Linked DNA regions of Homo sapiens: all the other regions are linked to region 1. The links are contacts of gene promoters, found by promoter capture Hi-C in blood cells and fetal thymus (Javierre and others, 2016). All regions are on one chromosome and are shown on one strand. The core of a region is centred on a gene start or on the middle of the fragment in contact, and the rest is flanking DNA. Distances in the headings are between cores, read along the strand shown. Region 1 holds the start of CYP7A1 (cytochrome P450 family 7 subfamily A member 1). Region 2 overlaps LOC105375856 (a long non-coding RNA gene). Region 3 has its middle 180 kb from the start of LINC03018.

Region 1 (2,700 bases), core at 109-2,608:
GGAAACAAAACTACATTCTAGTGTTTATCACTTTGCTAAGCATCATTTTTCTAAATATCTCAAAATGTTTCTTTTGATTATTTTCTTTAAAGACACAGATCACTGAATAAGGGAGGATTTCAGAACTGAGGTTTTGAAAATATTCCTAGTTTAAAGATATCTATATTATATTCTATAAGGATGGTTTCAGAGAAGAAGAATCTCATGTGAGAAATCAGCTTATTATAAAATGAAATTGAGTAAGATAAACACTGACGGAATCATCTATTGTAATTCAGTGCTCCTTTAAAATGTTTTTATTAGAACATGTAAACTTATTTTCCAACATAAACTTCTGTACCTCTTGATAGAATAATACAGTATAAAGTAATTACCTTTCTTTTCTTAGTTTGAAGATAAGTAGTTTAATTAAAAGTAAAAACTATCAGGCCTGAAAGAAACTGCAAAAGGCAGAAAACACATAGCAATCTACAAAGCTGAAAGATGGTTAGGGTTATTTTCTCTTTTTGAGATTGACATAGCAGAGAATATCTATATGCCTCCCCACAATTACTCCTTGAGCCAATTAGAAGTTAAATAAACTATGGTTCTGGATCTGACTGTATTTGTTTTTCTTGCATTCTTGAACCAGTTGTAAATAAATGAAATCGATGTCACATACACTCAGCAAACTTTCCCAATTCACCACAGTTGATTAACATTTATTTAAAAACAGTAATAGAATGATCAGCTCAGGCTCTATGCTCTTGTTCAGGCTTAGGCTGAGTCTATGCGATGCACAAGAATGAGCTTAAAAGAGAACATTTATTTAACAAGAGTATCTATTGAAGCCATGTGAGAGAAAGCAATCCTTTCCATTGTAGATTCCCACTTGCTACTTGTATCCTTACTAATCTGGGCTTCCTCTTTAGATACACATATAAATGTACATAGAGACCTTATACAATTTCTGTCAGTTATGTTTAACACCAATATACATTTATATATTACCATCGGTATATGCCAATACTAAAAAGGGAAGCTGTCATATGTCTTGTGAGATATAGTAAAAAAGATATTACTTTAAAAATTCAAATCAAATTTTTCATTTAAAAAATAAGGAAGATAATGCTAATATGTGTAAGTATAGAAAACCAAATTTACTGTATAAAAATGAAGGTAAAAAAATTAAATGGATGAATCAAAGAGCAATTTAAAGATAAAACATTACTTACCTTCTCCTAATTCCAAGAATAAGCCATAGACAACAGCATGCTGCTATAGCAATCCCCCAAATCAAAGATGTGGTCATCATTTTGCAAATCTAGGCCAAAATCTCTGAGGAAGAAAATCTCTGATTAGAAAGGGAAGGATGCCACTGAAAAGAGACTCAAGCTAGGCTTTTTATATACATAGTATCCAGATCCATTAACTTGAGCTTGGTTGACAAAGCAAACAATTAGCCATTTGTTCATTCTATTAGAAAAAAAAAAGTGGTAGTAACTGGCCTTGAACTAAGTCCACAGGTATCAGAAGTGGTTCCAAAGCAATCAGAGACCTGCAATACTTGATAAGTTGAAGGTCTCTCAAATATATGTTGACTTAACATTCGGACCTGGGGACAACAGCTAATATTAAGAGTTTGGTATGTGTAAAAAGAACAAATAAACCTGTTTAAGATGGGCATAGCTAATAAATACATAAACTATAATCATTTAAAGAAAGATAAGAATGAGTTATTCATCAAGCTTATAATTTGGTCTTGTTAACTTTTAAAGAAGAATTAATTTAGGTGCTTTGCCAGAGAGACGGTGATCAAGTTCAGAGGAAAGAGAACTGGGAAAAACATTTCTGCTGCTTCATGTTTCAGTGCTTTTATAAAATCATAGATATTTTACTACATATAGTAACATGTTACTCACCTAACATCCTCAAGAGAGTATTCTACATAAGTGCATCCTCTAGATAAATATAACTTATTGGAAGCATCAAAATTTTATCTATCATTCTTGTGACTAAAATGTTTATCAATGTTTCTAATTATTAAAGTAATAAATTTCATTTCAAGTAAGTTAAGACTAACTAAAACATATCTTGGTGGAAAGTGAACATCTATTAATAATTTACCTACCATGCTACTCCTTTACTCAGAAGTAACCACTAGTAACAATTTGGCATCTGTTCTTCCAAACTTTATTTCTGTGTACACAAAAATATTAGTTGAGTATTTATTACGTGCCAAGAACTCTTCAAAAGTATTCCAGTTGCAGGCATTAATAAGATAGGCAGATTTCCTAATCTAATGGAGATTCTATTCCAATGGAGAAAGGAGTAATAAAATACATGTTATGAAAAAAATAAAACATGGTATAGAAAGCTATGGGGGAATGAGGACAACTTTAGATATGATGATCAGAGATGGGCTCTCTGAAATTGTGACATTTGAGATCTGAATGACAAGAAGAGACTACTCATGTGAATATCAGAAGGAAGGATATTCCAGGAAGAGGAAGCAGCAAATGCAATGTCTTGAGTCAAGGATCAACTTGGTGAGTCTAAGAACCAAAAAGAAGGATGTATCCTACTGAAGCAGAGTGAATGAGAGTTCACAGAATTAAGACAAAAGAAGGTAGGCAACAGTACTGTGTGTGTATATATATGTATATAAACACACACACACATACACCCACAGTATTCTCTATATTTATACATGTGTGTATC
Region 2 (2,912 bases), core at 325-2,824, 580 kb before region 1:
CTCTAAAATATAAATCATAAAATCCAGAGAGGAGACAGATTGGAGAAAGATACATTAATTTTATAACAGACCGTGATTCTCCTTCAATGTCCAAATATTAACTAGACGCATGCACATCTTGCTAAATACCATGTTCGTTAACCTCTCTTATAGTTAGATATGGCCAATAAGACGTGAACTGAAGTGACTTACGTAGCTTCCAGGTCAAATCTTCAAATACATATGCCTCCCACTCCACTTTACCTCCTTCTCAACAGAACAGAGAAGAGGGAGTCAGGGTTGGGGTGAACCATCTTTGACCATGTGAATAAGGTCATCACGAGAAGGCTGGCAAAGCATTGAGACAGAAGGCACCTGGGCTCTATAATCCCTGTACTACCTACCTTCAGATCATTGCAGATTAGGGAGAAATAGTCTTCTCTCTTATTTAAGCCATTCTTAGGTGGGAATCTGTGTTACTGTAATTTAGCCTGTATCTTAACTAGTACATCAAACAAACGCTAACTAAAAGAAAGTAAGGTGGGCATAATAATAACAAACAAAACAGACTTTAGAGCAAAAAGGGATCAAAAGTCTCATAATGATATAAGGCTCATTTTACTGGAAGATATAACAATTCTAAAATAACATATGACTCAATTCTGCACTTACATAACTTAATGGAACTACAAGAAATAAATAAATCCATTATCCCAATGGAATACTTAATACCTCTCTCTCAGTACTCAATAGATAAAGCAGACAATAAAATTAGCCATAAAAGATTTAGAAAGAAAAATTAATATGTTTCATCCAATGGGCATATGGAGAATATTACATCCCATAATTAAATAATTTACATTCTTTTAAAGCACAAATAGAATAGTTTTGAAAACTGACTACATTCTAAACCATTAAGTTAACGTTAACAAATTTCAAAGGATGGCAAGATAGATACAGAGTGTATTCTCAGACCACAATGCAAATTAGTTACAAGTCAAAGACAAAATAAACCAAGAGAAAAAAACATGTTTACAAATCTGGCAAAATTCTAAACAAGTCAGAGATCAAAGAAGAATAATGCAAAGTATAAAACATTTATAAATGACCAGTGACTAAAATGTTTTCTAACAAAACTTGTGAAATGTAGCAAAAGCATTACTTAGTGACAAATCCATAGCCTTGTTAAAAGATAAGTGGCCAGGTGCGGTGGCTCACTCTTGTAATCCTAGCACTTTGGGAGGCCGAGGTGGGCAGATCACGAGGTCAGGAGTTCCATACCAGCCTGACCAACATGGTGAAACACAGTCTCTACTAAAAATACAAAAATTAGCCAGGCATGGTGGCACGTGCCTGTAATTCCAGCTACTCGGGAGGCTGAGGCAGGAGAATGGCTTGAACCCGGGAGGTGGAGGTGGCAAGGAGACGAGATCACGCCACTGCACTCTAACCTGGGCGACAGAGTGAGGCTCCGTCTCCAAAAAAAAAAAAAAAAAAAGAAAATTGTATTAGCACGTTTTCACGCTGTTGCTAAAGCATACCTGAGACTGGGCAATTTACAAAGGTAAGAGGTTTAATGAAGAACTCACAGTTCTACATGGCTGTGGAAGCCTCACAATCATGGCGGAAGAGAAGGAGGAGCAAATCACACCTTACGTGGACGGTAGCAGGCAAAAAGTGCTTGTGCAGAGGAACTCCTGTTTTTAAAACTATCAGATCTCATGAGACCCATTCACTATCAAGAGAACAGCACTGGAAAGACCTGCCCCCGTGATTCAATCATCTTTCACCAGGTCCCTCCCACAACACATGGGAATTATGGGAACTACAGGGTGAGATTTGGATGGGGACACAGAGCCAAACCGTATCAATAAGGTTCGTTAAAGGTAAAACCGTGATTCTCATACAGATATAAAACTGACTTGTGTTAAATATTTAATTCTTTAATCAGTAAGAAAACCAAGAAGATTCAAATGAGAATCCAAAGAACAGACACATTTTTAGATTAGGAATATTGAAAAGAATGTGTAAATTGACGTAAAACTTATTTTCCGGCCGGGCGCGGTGGGTCACGCCTTTAATCCCAACACTTTGGGAGGCCGAGGCGGGCGGATCACGAGGTCAGGAGATCGAGACCGTCCTGGCTAACACAGTGAAACCCCATCTCTACTAAAAATAAAAAAAAATTAGCCAGGCGTGGTTGCAGGCGCCTGTAGTCCCAGCTACTTGGGAGGCTGAGGCAGGAGAATGGCCTGAACCCGGGAGGCGGAGCTTGCAGTGAGCCGAGATCGCGCCACTGCACTCCAGCCTAGGCTACAGAGCTAGACTCCGTCTCAAAAAAAAAAAAAAAAAAAAAAGAAAAACAAACAAACAAAAAAACTTATTTTTCACAGAGGAGAAAGGAAGTTAAACCTCTACCAGGCAGAACAGAATCTGCATGTCTACAATCAAAAATTATTTTGCATTGCTATCAGTTACCTACAACTTGCAGAGTTGTAAAATAATTCCTAGTAAATGAAAGTATAGAATCAGATAACCCGGAAGGGTGTGCTATTTATAGACAATGCATAGGTTTCCATAGAAGGGCAATTTTTTTCTTAAAGTCACCCTCCTTCTGATCAAAAATACTAAAACAGAAGGATTATTCATGATCACAAAGCAAGGTTGGTCTCATTAGCTTTGGCCTTATTTACAGGGTTGTAGCAATAGTGTTGATTTACCATATAGGCCTATTAGAGTTTGTTTTGTTGCAATAAACTAAACACATAACTTATAATATTTCGGAGGAAAAAATTGCCCAGCAAGATAAACCCAAAAAAGTAAAAGATAAAGTATATAAAGAAAAGAGCAAAAAAAAAAAAAAATTAACTAAAATGCAAACAGAGAGTTTCTGCATCTGCCCAACTTGCAGAGAGCTGGAAGACCCTTGTTCC
Region 3 (2,700 bases), core at 93-2,592, 930 kb before region 1:
TGGTACCCCTCTCTGTTTTAAACTGGAGGAAATTTGATGCCAAAATCACATTCACCTGATCTCCTTGATCTCCAATAAATACATGTCAGTTGATATAAACATTAGATGTGCATATGTTTCTTACTTTTTTTTTCTGAAGAGTAGTGTCTAAATCAATATAGTTTAGAAATTAAGGCCTTATGGTATATCCCCACCAAAGAACTACAAGGGAACAAGGCAAAGGTAGATAAAAATGCGACTGTGATGATGGCCTTCTGGTGGTGCACGTGAGCTTGCTTCCTGAGCAAGCATCCATGCTGGTTTCTGTCTGGGAGAACATGAGCTGGAAGGGACATTTGATCTTTCGTATAGAAGTCTGTTCCAGAGACAACAGGAACGCAAGCTAGTCATTGATCATGAAACCCACACATGCAAATTCTGAAGTTTGGGGAAGGTCTCAGAAAGAGGTGTCCAGGCCTGGGCATGGCAGTGCATTTGGCTGAGCTGGGTGTAACCAGGGGAGGGGGATGGCCCAGGCTGTGGTTCGCAGTCCTTTTGAGAGACAGAACCACACAGTGAGCTCTGCACCCAGAGACGGTAACTGCAGAGAGGACAGATGTCCTTGGTGTGGACATTCCATCTTCCTGTGGTTCCTTGGGTTTTGTTTGGTTCTATCTCCAAAACTATCTAACTTTTAATGTATTGCTGAAATCAATTATCTAGTCATTCATAGAAGGCTATCTTTCACATCTATGTTCAAGATGGGCTGGCATTTTTGGTTTTGAGCTTTTTTTTACTAAATTTTGAAATCATGATTGCAAAGCTTTGTGAGATCACACAGGACACTTTTCAACTAATTCTAAAATTTGATAATCTATAAAATAGGAGTGTGTTATATAGGAATAGGCATTTTCCAGAGAGTTTGAAAGTACTTGAGTAAATTTATCCAGATCCAAAAAAGCAAAACACAGCAAACAAGGAAAGTTGACAACTGGTCTTTCTTTTTGTATATTTTGCATATCTGGATTTATTTCTTTTGAAATATCATGATTTAAACTATAGATAACTAAGACCAGATGGCTGCTGTAATTTGTGACTTGACTTAAACTTCAAAGTAGGTAACATTAAAAACTCTGATTGTCAAAGTCTTTCAGCAAGTTTTGCCCCATATTAGGAAAAAGTAAAAAGATGTTAAATGTAATACAAAGATGCCCCAAGAAATCAGAAAAATAAAAATTAGAAATTTCAGGACTTTGATTAAAATGCATGTAAAAGTATTTTCTGATTATGTAAGTAACATATAGTCATCGTATTAAAAATATAAAAACTATACAGAAAAAAGGTCAAAAAAGACATGCAGACTAACCATAATTTTATCTCTCCAGTGAAAATGATTACTTATATTTTAAAGTATGTCTCTCCTTTTTATAAACATACAATAAATTGCTAATGCTGATATAGTGTAAAAAAGGATAAATATGTGAGGTAATGCATGTTAATTAGCTCAATTTAGCTATTCCACACGTATATATACATAATTTTTAACATCAAGTTGTACACAATAAATATAATTTTTATTTGTTAATTTAAAAATTCATTAATTTGAAAATATTCCCTTGGATAATACAAGAACTATAACAAAGAAAAACAAAAATCATTTAAAATTTTCTATACCAGAGATAATTCCTTTTATTTTAGATATTATTTGTAGACTTTCTGTATTTTTGTCTGCATAGGGCAGGGATTGACATACTTTTTCTATAAAGGGCCAGATACTAAATATTTCAGGCTTTCAGGCAGATTTTCTGTGTCAACTGGAAAATCATGAGATCCATAAATTTAGAAAGGAAACTTTATTTCTTATAAAGGGTTACAGCCTGCAGGGCGGCTATCCCACAGGCTGAGAAGCTTGCTCTAAGGCAGAGCCTGAAAGACAGGAACATCTAGGGAAGGAATTGTCCCATAGAAAGCTTACATTCTACCCAAGTCTATGAGAATGACTACTTCCCCACATGTTCAGCACCTCCTTAATCCATCATCATTTATTTTTTTGTTTAGTTTGTGTTCTCCACCAATGATATTAATTTTTTCATGCTCATAGGCTATTTAATTTCTTCCTTGGTGAATTTTCTCTTTTTTTTTCTTTTATAATTGTTCTTATTGGTAGTGTTCATTTTTTCCTATTGATTGATGGGAGATTTTATACATATTAAGACTAAAATTTCCTTGACATGTGTGTTGTAAATGCTCCTTTTGTTGTTTCCTTTACATATAATTGATGGGCTTTTATTTTAATTTTAAAAACTGATTTTAATGTAATCCAGTAAATAATATTTTATAATTTTGCATTTTTCCTTATTCAACAAAAGAACTTTCTTAACTGTACCTTCAAGGCTATGATTTTTTTTTTTTTAAATTTTTACTCTATCTGAAATTTAAAATTAAATTAGGATTTAATTATATGTATTTGGTTTTCAAATGGGTAAATTCCTCGACACATACATTCTCCCAAGACTAAACCAGGAAGAAGTTGAATCTCTGAATAGACCAATAACAGGCTCTGAAATTGAGGCAATAATTAATAGCTTACCAACCAAAAAAAGTCCAGGACCAGACGGATTCACAGCCGAATTCTACCAGAGGTACAAGGAGGAGCTGGTACCATTCCTTCTGAAACTATTCCAATCAATAGAAAAAGAGAGAATCCTCCCTAACTCATTT

The links. Contacts are between HindIII fragments. The CHiCAGO score rates a contact against its expected background, and 5 or more counts as called.
Region 2: a contact is called between a fragment that was not itself captured here and the fragment with the promoter of CYP7A1 in region 1, in 1 of 17 cell types (neutrophils). The highest score is 5.9, in neutrophils.
Region 3: a contact is called between a fragment that was not itself captured here and the fragment with the promoter of CYP7A1 in region 1, in 1 of 17 cell types (neutrophils). The highest score is 5.1, in neutrophils.

What each region holds. Positions count from the first base shown.
Region 1 is chr8:58,498,805-58,501,504 of GRCh38, forward strand. It overlaps CYP7A1 (cytochrome P450 family 7 subfamily A member 1), which reads right to left and starts at 1,359. Exons shown (of 6, transcript NM_000780.4): 1 at 1,215-1,359. The coding sequence starts at 1,294. RefSeq lists a silencer at 1-1,237, a promoter at 1,335-2,700 and an enhancer at 1,569-1,790. The HindIII fragment of the contact is 6,882 bases long and covers 1-1,725 here.
Region 2 is chr8:57,917,201-57,920,112 of GRCh38, forward strand. The region is part of intron 2 of LOC105375856 (a long non-coding RNA gene); the gene reads left to right. Among named protein-coding and RNA genes, the nearest start is that of LINC01602, 60 kb to the right of the region's middle. RefSeq lists enhancers at 1,685-2,197, 2,198-2,708. The HindIII fragment of the contact is 4,723 bases long and covers 1-2,912 here.
Region 3 is chr8:57,565,253-57,567,952 of GRCh38, forward strand. No RefSeq gene overlaps it. Among named protein-coding and RNA genes, the nearest start is that of LINC03018, 180 kb to the right of the region's middle. The HindIII fragment of the contact is 1,085 bases long and covers 801-1,885 here.